Regions from separate parts of the Homo sapiens genome. Here regions 1, 2 and 3 are each linked to region 4. The links are contacts of gene promoters, found by promoter capture Hi-C in blood cells and fetal thymus (Javierre and others, 2016). All regions are on one chromosome and are shown on one strand. The core of a region is centred on a gene start or on the middle of the fragment in contact, and the rest is flanking DNA. Distances in the headings are between cores, read along the strand shown. Region 1 has its middle 200 kb from the start of CYRIA. Region 2 has its middle 140 kb from the start of CYRIA. Region 3 overlaps CYRIA (CYFIP related Rac1 interactor A). Region 4 holds the start of MYCN (MYCN proto-oncogene, bHLH transcription factor).

Region 1 (3,031 bases), core at 22-2,521, 520 kb before region 4:
TTCTTGGACCCTTAAACTTCTCTTTGTCTCCAGGAATATCACTTCAGGCCACTGTCTCCCTGTCTCTGTCCCAGATGATGGAAATTGACTCCTAACTCAGTCTGCTTAACCCCACCTTCACAAAGTACTAGGGTGATCTCTGGAAATGCAAATCTGAAAATCTCACTTACAGACTCTTCTTAGGTGGTTCCTCACTGCCCCTAGAATGGGCATAGAAGAATGTTTAAACAAACTTTCATGGCCTGGGCTCCAACTGCTTGTAAAACCTCATTTCTCTCCACTGCTGTCTTTCTCTTTAGACTCCAGAGACCAGTCCCCATGGGGGTCAAGGAGCCATTCAATCTGTTAGGTAGGAAGAGATTTCTTTTGGCTTCTTGGGCAGGGTTACATGGTGGGACATCTGAGGGGTTTACCTCTAGGAACTCCCCCAAGTTTTCAAAGTAAAGAAAGATCCAAAGCCAGAAAAGATCCCTGTCTACCTCTGGGGGAAAATGTGGAAGGGAAGAGGAGGAAAGTCACCATTTTGAAGTAGCCCAGAGTGGCCTCCATGACGAAGACCTGCTATCCAGAAAAAGACTCTAAAGAGCCTAATCTCAACGAGGGTGAGGCCGTTCCTCTCACTCCAGCCCCTTGGCTTCCTGCATCACCTAAAGAGGGAAACAAGCTAAGAAAATACAGTCAGTTAGGAATCTCTTGTGGATTGCTAGAGGCATGGGAGTCTAAAGGATTAAGGAAAATGCTGTCTGGAACTGGGCTCATCTGCAGGATCAAACTGTGGCTGTCCTGCAGGGGTCAGACTCCCACTTGCCTCAATGTAACCTCAGTCCTTTGTTAATTTCTAACTCAGAGCTTCTTCTATTCTACTGTGCACTTCACTAAAATGTGAAGTATCAGTATCTCGGGGTGGGGAGGGAGGACTCCTATGAGAAGAAAGGCCCCAGGGAAAAGCCTCATCCACATCAATAGCACATCCAAGGTGACTACAGGGAGGCCAGCCACAGCCTTCCTGGCTCTCACACTCACAGACACCAGTAATAGATTCTTCTCTCATAGGCAATCTATGATAGATGTAATGGCTAAGTTTATGTGTCAACTTGAGCATGCTATGGGACACCCAGATTAAACATTATTTCTGGGTTTCTCTGTGAGGATGTTTCCAGATGATTAGCATTTGGATTGGTGGATTCTGTGAAGTAGATTGCCCTCCCCAATATGGGTGGACATCATCCAATCTGTTGAGGGCCTAAATAAAACAAAAAGGAAGAGGAAGAAGGAATTCATCACTTTTTGCTTCTGGCCTTCCTGCTTGAGCTGGGACATCAGTCTCTTCCTCCTCTTAGACTGGAATTATACCACCAGCTTTCCTCAGTCTCCAGGTTGCAGATAGCAGACTGTGGGACTTCTCAGCCTCATAATTACATAAACCAAACCCTCATAATAAACCTTCTTTTATATCTATGTCTATCTATCTCTATCTATCTATCTATCTATCTATCTGTCATCTATCTCTATTACTGTATCTATATCTACCTCTCTCTGTGTGTCTGTCTCCTATTGGTTCCGTTTCTGTAGAGAAACCTGACTAACACAATAAGGGTCACTAAACAGGGGTCTAAAACCCAGAATCTATGCAGACTTTTGGCGTATGGACACATATGCAGTTTTTTGAGGTCATAAGATCTATTATGGTCTTTCAGATTTCTAAGGGTTTGTTAACCAAAAAAGGCAAAGTACCACTAAAAAGAAGCCCTTTCTTTGAAATGTGCCCTGGGAGGAATGTCCTTTAGGAAAACTATTGAAAACAAAATAAATCCATCTACTATGCCACAGAAAAGCATCTTTCATGAGATGAGATGTAAGCCAGAAACCATAAAGGAAACAACTGGTATATTTGACTATGTATAAAATCAGAAGAGTCTTCATGGCACAAACTGTGGCCTTCCCCTCAACACGTTCCACATTGCAACCACCACAGACAAGGCTGACACATGCATAATAACTTGGAAAAATCATTTGTAACATAAATGGCAGGGAAAGAATAATATCAGTAACCTACTGTAGTCCCCCTTTATCTGGCTTCACTTACCCATAGTAAAATGTGGTCTGGAAATAGGTGGGCATAGTATAATAAGATATTTTGAGAGAGATGAAGAGAGACCATATTTGTATAATTTTTATTACAGCATATTACTATACTTGTTATTTTATTATTCGTTATTATTGTTAATCTCTTACCATGCCTAGTTTATAAACTAAACTTTACCAAGGGTATGTGGTGTAAGAAAAAAACAGAATATATAAGGTCCAATACATCTGTGGTTTAAGGCATCTACTTGGGGTCCTGGAATGCACCTTCTCGGATAAGGGGGAACTACTGTCTAAAGAGCTACTGCAAACCTATCAGGAAAAATCAAATTTCTCAAAGAGAAAAAGAGGGATAAAAAATCTCAACCAGTCTAAAGTCTAAAGAAAAATGCAACTGGTCAGTAAATATAAAAAGTCATTCAACCTCACAAATCATTGAAGTTCAAAAAATATATGCATCATTTTTCATGTAAAGAATTGACAAGGATTTAAAAGGCAAGCAAAACTGATATTGACGAGTGTCTAAAGCACTTGCTCTCCACCCTGGCTGCACAATGCAGTAACCCATAGAAATTTATGAAATATTGATGCCAACATCTGCTTCTGACCATGAAGGATGAACTGTTATGGGAACTGCCCTCTCACCATAAACAGCTAGAAAACCAGACAAATACATGAAACAACTGTTTTCAGATACTGGGAAATAGCAGAGCAAGCCTGTTATCCCTGAGAGAAGAGAAACAAATGAGGTGAGCCCTACAATTGCCCAGTTTGCTGCCTGGAGGCAGTTTCAGTACATAGTGCAGGAAAGAGAACCCAAACAAGACCCAGCAGTCTCACTGAGTTGAGGACAGAAATCAGAATTCCAGAAAGCCAACTTGCAGGCAAAATACTGGAAAAAAAAAAAAAAAGGGAAGCTGCAGAGAGAGGTCTGGAGATCTGCAAA
Region 2 (3,029 bases), core at 409-2,908, 580 kb before region 4:
AAACCCGATAATGGTTCCCAAATGCACTGTCCTGGGCTGATGCCAGGCTGGGCAGTGGGGGGCTCTAGGTTATTTTTAATTTTACTGTAGCCAAACCATGACCTCATCCTGATGGAATTCTCTCCCACCAAAGAGCTGTATCGAGTTATTTGTCGGCCGAAATTCATTTGAATGTGGATTCATCGGAAACATGTGTGGCCACAGAAGCAGCCAAGAGGGAAATGTGGGGGAGGCAAGAGTGGGATTTTCAAGGAAACCCTTCCTTTTGTTTGAACGAAACATGCCAGTCCTTGCAGGGCCTCGGGCCTTTGATAATATGGGTTTTGGGCCTGCTGTTCTCTGTGACCGCTCTGTGCCCTCAGCAGCCCCAGATCAGATCCTTGCTCTCCCCCAGCACAGGAAATGCAGCTGTCCCCAGCACCCACCAGAGGCAGGCCCTGGGCAGCCACCCTGTAAAATGGATGAGAGCAGGAGCCTCAGCCAACACCCAACAAACTCACAGACAGTACAGGATACTGGCATAAATAATAACAGCAATTCCTACTCTATCAAGCACCTACCGTGTGTATGGTGGAACTGCTTTGCATACGTTAGCTCTGATCTTTACAACAAAGTAGGTGGTATGATCATTCTCCCTTTCACAGAATTAAAAACTGAGGCTTGAGATGTTAACTCAAGAGTACCTGGTTATTTAGTGGCTTAATCAAATTTCAAGGCCAAACCTGTTTTATATAAAACTTCTCCTCTAACCTCAATGCTTTTACAAACAGAAGTCTTAAAGGGATTTAAAGAAAAACAAGACACCTTTAGACTGGCAGGTCAAGGAAGGCTTCATACAGGAGTGGTATCTGAGCAAGGTATGAAGAACAGGCAGTAGTATTTGGACAAAGCAAGATATATTCCAGACAGAATAAAAGTCAGGAAGTGAGAGGAGGTATCAGGAAAATGTGAGTTGAATACTGCAAGGAGTCAAGAGCCTGGTTTGACTCCCAAAGGACAGAAGTAGGGCGTGAAATGGGAGATGCCTCATGAGAGTGCAGCATGGAGGGCATCTGAGTTTTAGGTGACTGGACAGGCTTGATCAGAAGGATCATGGGGAGTCACTGAGAAACATTGAAAAGGAAAGTGCCGTGAACCTTCCTCCAGCCTCAGATGAAGAAAAGATGGCGCGGGACATCCTGGGAGGGGAGCGGGAGAAGGAAATGGCTGAGTGGGGGCAGCCCCACAGAATGCAGAAGAAAGCTCTGGAGGACTTAATGACTGATTATATGTGGGGAGAAAAGTCAGGAAAAGATCCAGAATGAATCCCAGGTCTCTGGTATGAGTGGGTGGAGTGGAGGGTCACACACTGAAACAGGAGTGAGCTGTGGACAAAAGGAGCAGATCAAGCTTTTGAACATGTAGCTTGAGTTATGTTATTTTCTGTTGCCCCAGCTGCCATGTGGATGGACTAAATCATGCTCCTCTTTGATTCCTGAAGTCTCCTAGCACAAGCCTCAGCATGTAGGATGTGCTCAGGGAAAAACACTGAATGATAGATTGGCACCATCACCCCATTCCCTGTGGCCTGATATAAATGACCCACCTAAATAGCTGGATTAGGCCAGTCTCAACATCCAGATTGTGCAGCAGCAGAAGCACCATGTCAGCCAGCAGCTAAAACCACATTCTCAGTGCAGGCAGAACCAGAGGAGCTGCTTTCTGAGATTGTCACATGGCAATGTTTTGAGTGGGAAGGGATCTGGCATCGGCAAAGGACTCTGCCTGTTGCCATCTTCTATGCAGAGATGGATCCATTCTACCAGTAGCCATCATAGCCAAAGATTTCAAAGGACCAGGAAGAAAAGCCTGCTCAGAGCAGACGCGAAGTAGAAACATCTGTTTGAGTTTTCAATCAAGCTATTTTCCCTGCACAAAGCAAGCTTGTAGGAAATTGATTATTCTATTTCCTTCTCAGAAGTGGAGACTCCAATGTCAGGGAGAATGGTTTCCTATAAGACTACGTGTCTTGGAGTACTGTAAGTTGTTTCTAGTGTCTTTGGTGATATATGCACAGAAGTCTTGAAAAACAGGATTGAGTATCTTATTATGTCCCGGTTGGACAGAGGTCTCTCATTCCATGTGGCTCTCCTGTCTTCTGTGTCTAATGGCAGATGGAGTGTGGGTTGCTCGTTGCATATGTTCTCCTTTCTGAGTGGCCATGTTTGCCTGTAAAACCCTATGTAAACCGGAGAGCAAGAACAAGTCCCAATAAGGACATATCTGTTTTGAAATTTTTTGTTTTTAGGAGTCTTGATTACTGAGAAGATGTGCTCCATTTTAAACTTGGGTGTCTCTATTTCAGAAAAGACACAATTACAAGCCTGTGATGTGAAGTTTTCCAGATGTTAATTAGGTAAGGAAAGTAATATGGTGAACCTCCAGGTATCAATCACTCAATTTCAGTATTTGCCCATTCTTGCTTCCTCTATAACTCTCCATAGACTTTCACTTGCTATGTTTCTCCCTGAATTGTGAATTGATTGTGTCAGGCAGCAAGGTACAGTAGAGTCTCAGCAGAATCACAGGGGGCTCCACTGCTGCTAGGTTAGGGGGCCTTGATGGTAAATGTCATATTTATTTTTGTACCCCTGGGCTTACACAGGACCTAGTATGCAGTTGACACTCAAAGAATGACATGACTGTTCCGCACTAGGTGTGTGATTTTGGAAACATCCTTTAATTTCTTCAGCCTTGGAGTTCTCATTTGAAAAGTATAAACAAGAAATCTGCCTGACTGAACAGTTGTAAGCATTAAATCAGACCATGTATGGAAACCGTTTAGCACGATGCTGAGTGGTAGTAAGCTCAGTCATGCTATTCCCTCTTCTTTCTCCATTACTCTTTGGCTGTTGGAGCCTAGGCCTTCTTCACCTGATCTTAGCCAAAAGGCTGAGAAGCGATACCTAGGCCTTCTTAAGACATAGGAATTCAAATGAGTAGGTAGAAAGGAAGATAAAAAGAAAGGCAGGGTTAAAGTGATGAGGAAT
Region 3 (3,185 bases), core at 237-2,736, 690 kb before region 4:
TAATCTATATACACATCTAGAATATTTCCTGACAAATCATAACCTGCCAACAAATGGTGGCTGTTGTTGTTGTTATTATTCTAGGGCTGTGACTGTTTTTGGCTTTAGCTCTTCATTGTAGAAATGGTGAGAGATGACCCCTGTCTTTCCTGGCTTCCCAGGCATCATGAGGCTGAAACCCAGTGGCATCCCCGAAGCCTGGTGTCCCGGGCATGTGTGCACTGCTGGTGCTGGGGATGCAGAAAGGGAACCGCCTGCCTGCCCGCCCAGCTGCTCCATCTCTCTGGGACATAGGAATTGGCTTTCCAAGGCATCATCCCCTCCACCCATCTCAGGCCCTGCCTTCATCCCCTCCCTGGCCCAGCCATGCTGTATAAACACCAACACCAGGATGTCATTTACTGGTGTTGCCTGACATTGGTCGGCTGCTACCCAGAGGGCACTAGGTACCAAATTCCTAATTCTGCCTGCACAGCAGCTGTCAGTCTTTCCTGCCTGGAGAGTCTCCTATCTTCCTTCTCTCCTTTTGAAGGAAGGTGTCATCTGTTCCTAGTGTATTTGCTTTATTCTCTTTCTTTCCACTATTTGGCTTTGCAGAATTTGAGCCAGACTGCTTAAGTTCACACCTTGACTCTATCACTCAAAAGCTAAATCCCATGGACAAGTGACTTAATCATTTTGTGCCTCAGTTACCTCTTCTGTAAAAGGGGACAATAATAATGCCTACCTAGTTTGGTTGCCATGAGGTTTCAGGGAGTCACTACATGTACAGTGCTAAACAAAGCCCAACACACAGTAAGTACTTGATCAGTGTTAGCTATTTTTATTATCCAAACACCTGCCCCTTCTGGTTTCTCAGTGTTGCTCTGTGCTTCTGGCATTGAGGGACTCAGTCTAAGCTCTGCTGCTGGTGAACTGTGGGCACAAGCATGCCCCACCCTGGGCTTTGGGTCCCTTGATTGCCCACCCCGGAGGGTGGGGACACAGTCTTTGGGGCCCTTTCGGCCTCCCGTAGTGGATATTGCCTTCCCTTCAGTTGTTGTGCCTTGCTTTTCTATTTCCAGAGCCATTCAGAAGGGGAAGGCAGCAGCCGTTTGAAGCTCTTCCCTAGCCCTCCCCTGAATGGGGTGGGGTGGGACAGGACATGGGGAAAGGTCGCTAGACTGGAAGACAGGAGATGCCTATTTCGGGCCCTAGTTCTGTTTTGAGACTCTGGATAAGGCACCTCCTGTCTCTGATTTCGGCTTCTCCATTTATAAACTGGGGTGATTACCCCTCAGCTTTGTACCGCTCTCAAAATGAGCAAAGATGAAAAGATATGGAAAAGCATTTCACTGGCTGCCAGGTGCTACAGAAGGGCAAACTCCTGATTGTGTTGTGTGGTGTGAAGCCCCACCAGGCCAGGCACAGGGCATAGCACTGTGGAAGTAGCCTGGGCCGCCTGTGGCTGCTTGGATGGGAGCAAATGCATGCTGGTGTTGCTGGTGATATGTGAGGTTGTGCTGCCTGTGGAGATGCGAGATGAGAGTTTTCAGTTTCTTTCCCCCCTTGCTCTCTGTTCTCCCTAATGGACACTTGGCCCCGGGGTGACTCACACAGTAAACCATCAGCAATTGCTTCAGAAGGCTTGGAGTCCTCTCAAACATATGCTGACTTTTTGTTGTTCTATGTTTGGTTTGGAGTAGTGGGGCAGATCCCTGGGAGGCCATTAGCTGTGGGACCTGGAGTGAGCCCCTGCCCTTGGCGAGCCTTTGTGGTTGCATCTGTAAGGTGGGAGAAGGTGGGGTGAGGGTGAGAGCTGAGTGGGGGTCCGTGTTAACTGAATGCTAGTCCATGGATCAGAGCCAAGTTGGTGGCACTAAAACCCTCTCAGAAGATTTTTAACCGTACAAGTTTCCTGACCGCTGCTCTGGATTGGGTCTGTATTTTTTGTGAGCTTCTTAGATGCGTAGCCAGTACAGGGGGCCCGCTGGAGTAGGGGAACCAGTATGTGATGGCTTACGGGCTCTGCATTCTCTACCCCTTGGTGCCCATCAGGGGTCTATGAATAGTATTAGCATTAGTAGAAGTGGTATTCGGTTATTAAGTTATTATTAGGGTCATCTCTGTGTGTGGTTGTTCAAGTTACCAGGTGACTGTCATTCTTTACAATGTGCATTTGGAGTTGGGGAATTTCTGTAAGCCTCAGTAAGTAAATGGAGTCAACAAAATGGACAGGAAGACAAGCAGGAGGTGTCTTAGAATGATGATCAGGAGGAAACCCGGTGTTCCGCCTGACTGACCCTCTTGGTTTTGTGGTGGAAAATAGCAGCATTTGTGCTGAACCCAGCTGAGTGAATCCATCCCAGTCATGCACACTGAAAATGGGTTCAATTCTGAGGACATTTGAGAAAAAAAAAAAAAGCAGTGAGGATGGGATAGCTCTCCCTGATACCTGATCACTTTGAGAGCTTTTCTCTTGTTTCCAGATCCTTTTGTGACACGCCTGGCCCCTCAGCCACAGTCAAAAGGTGAGGAACAGGGCCTTACCCCAGAATCCTTCTTTGGAAATTCACCACCTTCCATGTCTACACCTGAGGTGTGGAAAACATCCCTGTGCCAGGCGGTGCTTGGTGGTGGGAAGTGGAATTTGTGGACCCCAACCCTGAGTTTGGAGGAAGTAAACGTCTTTGCCCTGCCCTGTTACCATCACAATCCGGTTTCCTAAAATGCAGGGCCCAGCTCCACTAACGTCCACTCAGAAATCACTTTCTCATCAAGCCAAGGACATTTCAGAGTTGCTGTGTTTTCTCTATCATTTCCTTCCCTCCTCCCCCACTTCACTTCCTGTTTTTTCTTCCTCTTTCTCCACCCCCACCCCATCTCTCCTGGCATGTCCCTTGTTGTCTGAGAACAGGAACAAAGCCTTGAGCCAGGGAGCGTTGATAATTGTGACTTCCTGAGGTGCCCTCTTGCTGCTGCCCCTGCTGCTGAGAGCCAGAACCAGCCCAGCCTCTGGGGGCCTGGGAGCCCCAGCTGGGAGCCTGGCAGGAAGTCTTGGACTTTAGACCCCTACTTCCCCCACAAGCCCACCACCATCCCCCACCCCCATCAGAAAGAGAATCTAATAAAAATAATCTTTCATGCCCTTACCACAGTTTCAGCTTTAAAGAACTGTCTCATGCATTTGAGCTGAAACATTGGAA
Region 4 (3,233 bases), core at 667-3,166:
AGCTTCTCGCTCACGGCGCGCTCCAGCTTCTCGCGGGCGGAGAAGCCGCTCCACATGCAGTCCTGGAGGATGACCGGGTTGGGGGTGAGGCCACCCAGTCCCCCCAGGCCGAACGCGTCCTCCTCGGCCGGGCTGCCCCACAGCTCGTTCTCAAGCAGCATCTCCGTGACCCAGCTCGGGGGCTCGGAGCTGTGCTCCGCGAAGCCACGGCTGGGCGACAGCGGGGGCGTGGGCAGCAGCTCAAACTTCTTCCAGATGTCCTCCCCCGGGGGGGTCGAGTCGGGGCCGCCGAAGTAGAAGTCATCTTCGTCCGGGTAGAAGCAGGGCTGTAGCGAGTCAAACTCGAGGTCTGGGTTCTTGCAGATCATGCCCGGCATGGTGGACGTGGAGCAGCTCGGCATCGGCTCGCCTCCCGGCCGGCGACTGAGGGCTTCTTTCCGCCCCGTTCGTTTTAATACCGGGGGTGCTTCCTTCCCGTGGGGGGCGCGGAAGGCGGGGGCCGGCGCCGACCTCCAACACTGCAACCGACAGACACACCGGAGAGGGTGGGCAAACGGGGCAGACCGAGGGGATAGGCAATGGGCGCCCCCTCTAACCAGGTTCCCCAATCTTCCCTCCAAGCCCCCCACTCTGCCCACTGCTCCCGAAGGTGGAGGAAGTTGTGCCTCTCGCTCCCTCCCTCCCGCCCTCCTTTTGTGTACAAGCTGTCTACGACAGGGGGTGGGAGGGGGCATGCAGATGCAGGGGGTGGTGGCGAGGCTCCGCAACTTTGGAAACTGCCATTTCATTCACACAAGGCACTGCCTGGGGGAGGGGGCTGTTCCTGGCTGCAGAATTCTAGCTCTCACGAGCACGCAGACAACCGCACTCGCAGCGGTGTGGGGCCGGCTGCTCAGGGGAAGCCCCAGGCTCTCCGACCCAGCTACCGGGAATGGTATTTGGAGTACCTTCTACCCCCTTTGTAAAAATGCAACCTCAGGAGTGCAAATGATAGCAGGGGATTTAGAAAACTTTGCAAATAAAAAAAAGCCTTTCTCTAGACAGAGACCAACAACAGACACCCATATCCACAAATCCTTCCCCTCCCCAAATTTGAGCAAACGCCCCTCGGCATTCACCCGCTGCAGGGATACTCCTGCCAATAGCTTAATTGGAAGCTCTCTAAGCCCACCCCTGCTCTTCCAAACCCACGACAACGTCCTCTTCCAGGGAGGGAGAGGCTGAGCCCCTGTTCCCGGGAATGGCAGGGGCGCCCGCGCGAGGAGGGTCGCCGGGAGAGCCGCCTCTCCTCCAAGCTGGAGCAGCCGTGACCCAGATTGCGACCGCGGCGGCCTCGCCCTGCCTAATCCCCCCCTCTTCTTCCTCCAGGGGCACCCTTTGGAGAAGAACCCCAGCCTGGGGTGGGGACGCACCGGCTCTCCGACAGCTCAAACACAGACAGATCTTCTAGAGCCGAGGGAATTTCTTTTCGCAGAAGCCATTACTCCCCCCGGTAAGGGCTGCAAAAGGATTAGGGCGGGTCTCCTCTAGCCAGGATGCCTTCGGGGCTGGAACTGGCTTTTCTGGGAAAACCCAGAGATGGTTTTGTTTCGGAAGCAGAAACAGTCCCCCGGGCATATTAGGGCGCCCGGTGCGCACGTCGCAATCCCGTCCAGGGCTTGCCTTGCCCCGGCGCTCGTCGCTTCCCTGGGCGCCGGGCGGTTTGCAAGCCCTGCTCCTTACCTCCCGCCGACTGCAGGGGATCCGGAGGCGATTCTGCGCGGGTGTCTCCGGGTGGGCCGGGGGGGCGGGGGTGTCCTCGGATGGCTACAGTCTGTGCGCGCTTGCGCCTGGCTAGCGCTTGCTCGGCTCCAACACAGTTCCCAGGAGCCCCCCGCATCCACCCAGCGCGTCCAGACAGATGACTGTCACAGCCTGCGCTTTGAAGCTCGGGGGATATTATTAACTGAAAAATCTGACACACCCGGGGGGCGGGGAGAGAAGGGGGCTGTGGCGCAGACAAGGGGGAGGGAGAAAGGAGAGGAAAGCGGCTTTACCCCGCCCTCCTGATTTCCATAAAAATCAGGGGAGGCGCCAAGGCTTTCGCGCCAAAAGCCACTTGCTTTTCTTTGCAGAGAGAAGGCTGCAAAGCTGGGAAGCCCAGGGTGTGCTCCTCCCGCCCTTTTGGACCCCCGGGCTTGCACCGGCTGCACTCTGAGAACCAGCTGCGCGCGGAGCGGTGCAATGCAGCACCCACCCTGCGAGCCTGGCAATTGCTTGTCATTAAAAGAAAAAAAAATTACGGAGGGCTCCGGGGGTGTGTGTTGGGGAGGGGAGACCGATGCTTCTAACCCAGCCCCCGCTTTGACTGCGTGTTGTGCAGCTGAGCGCGAGGCCAACGTTGAGCAAGGCCTTGCAGGGAGGTTGCTCCTGTGTAATTACGAAAGAAGGCTAGTCCGAAGGTGCAAAATAGCAGGGAGAGGACGCGCCCCCTTAGGAACAAGACCTCTGGATGTTTCCAGTTTCAAATTGAAAGAAGAGGGGCGCCCCCCTTGTTTGAAAATAAATAAATAAATAAGTGCGAGCTACGAGGGTGGCGCCGCGGTGGTTTCTTCGGCCGAAGGCGACACCTCGCGGAGACTGAGCAGAAAGCGGAGCTGCCCGGCCTTGGCGCGGACCTGGAGTGCGGCCACTCCGCAGGTCTCCCGCCGCCCCCGCGGGACTGTCCACGCGTCCTCACCACTGCGGAGGAGGAGGCGGCCTGGCTCTGCTTCCTAGGGGGAATGGGCGTACGTTCCCTGCAGCCGTCCCCAGGGCTCCCAAGTTAACCTTTTCAAAGCCACCATTCTCCCCAGTTATGGGCAGGCGAATCTGATTTACCGAGATGGAAGTGCTGTCCACACCTCCTGAGACCCAGCCTCGGCTCAAACAGCTTGATTCCAAACTGTTGAAGGGAAAAAGGAAAGCTGCTGTCACTACTTCGTTTCTTTGTGCCTCAGTTTCCTCAATTGTGAAATGGAGTTCGTAGTGCCTCCTACCTGAGAGTTATGAAAGCTCTTATAAGTCCCCAGCCCATAATAGTTGTGTCAGCTATTATTATGATGATGACCACGACATGCTATTCTTCTGGGGAAAATAACACCCCTCTGTCCAGCAGCAGCATTGGCCCCTTCCCTTCCCGCCACCATCAAATCCTGGCTTTACTTCACTCTGGTCTAGCTTTTCTTACAGGTGTATTTGTTTGCAGGGGGTCA

What was found. The method cuts DNA at HindIII sites, captures the fragments that hold promoters and counts their contacts. A CHiCAGO score of 5 or more calls a contact.
Region 1: a fragment that was not itself captured here is called in contact with the fragment with the promoter of MYCN in region 4 in 1 of 17 cell types (erythroblasts); the score reaches 5.4 in erythroblasts.
Region 2: a fragment that was not itself captured here is called in contact with the fragment with the promoter of MYCN in region 4 in 2 of 17 cell types (erythroblasts and megakaryocytes); the score reaches 6.0 in erythroblasts.
Region 3: a fragment that was not itself captured here is called in contact with the fragment with the promoter of MYCN in region 4 in 1 of 17 cell types (naive CD8 T cells); the score reaches 6.6 in naive CD8 T cells.

Annotation. Positions count from the first base shown.
Region 1 is chr2:16,459,589-16,462,619 of GRCh38, reverse strand. No RefSeq gene overlaps it. Among named protein-coding and RNA genes, the nearest start is that of CYRIA, 200 kb to the left of the region's middle. The HindIII fragment of the contact is 4,041 bases long and covers 1-3,031 here.
Region 2 is chr2:16,519,618-16,522,646 of GRCh38, reverse strand. No RefSeq gene overlaps it. Among named protein-coding and RNA genes, the nearest start is that of CYRIA, 140 kb to the left of the region's middle. The HindIII fragment of the contact is 533 bases long and covers 1,392-1,924 here.
Region 3 is chr2:16,625,053-16,628,237 of GRCh38, reverse strand. The region is part of intron 1 of CYRIA (CYFIP related Rac1 interactor A); the gene reads left to right. Among named protein-coding and RNA genes, the nearest start is that of CYRIA, 39 kb to the left of the region's middle. The HindIII fragment of the contact is 7,677 bases long and covers 1-3,185 here.
Region 4 is chr2:15,939,233-15,942,465 of GRCh38, reverse strand. MYCN (MYCN proto-oncogene, bHLH transcription factor) reads right to left here and starts at 1,916. Exons shown (of 3, transcript NM_005378.6): 1 at 1,723-1,916; 2 at 1-518. The coding sequence starts at 401. MYCNOS (MYCN opposite strand) reads left to right here and starts at 781. Exons shown (of 4, transcript NR_110230.2): 1 at 781-934; 2 at 1,369-1,492. RefSeq lists an enhancer at 1,788-2,318. The HindIII fragment of the contact is 19,196 bases long and covers 1-3,233 here.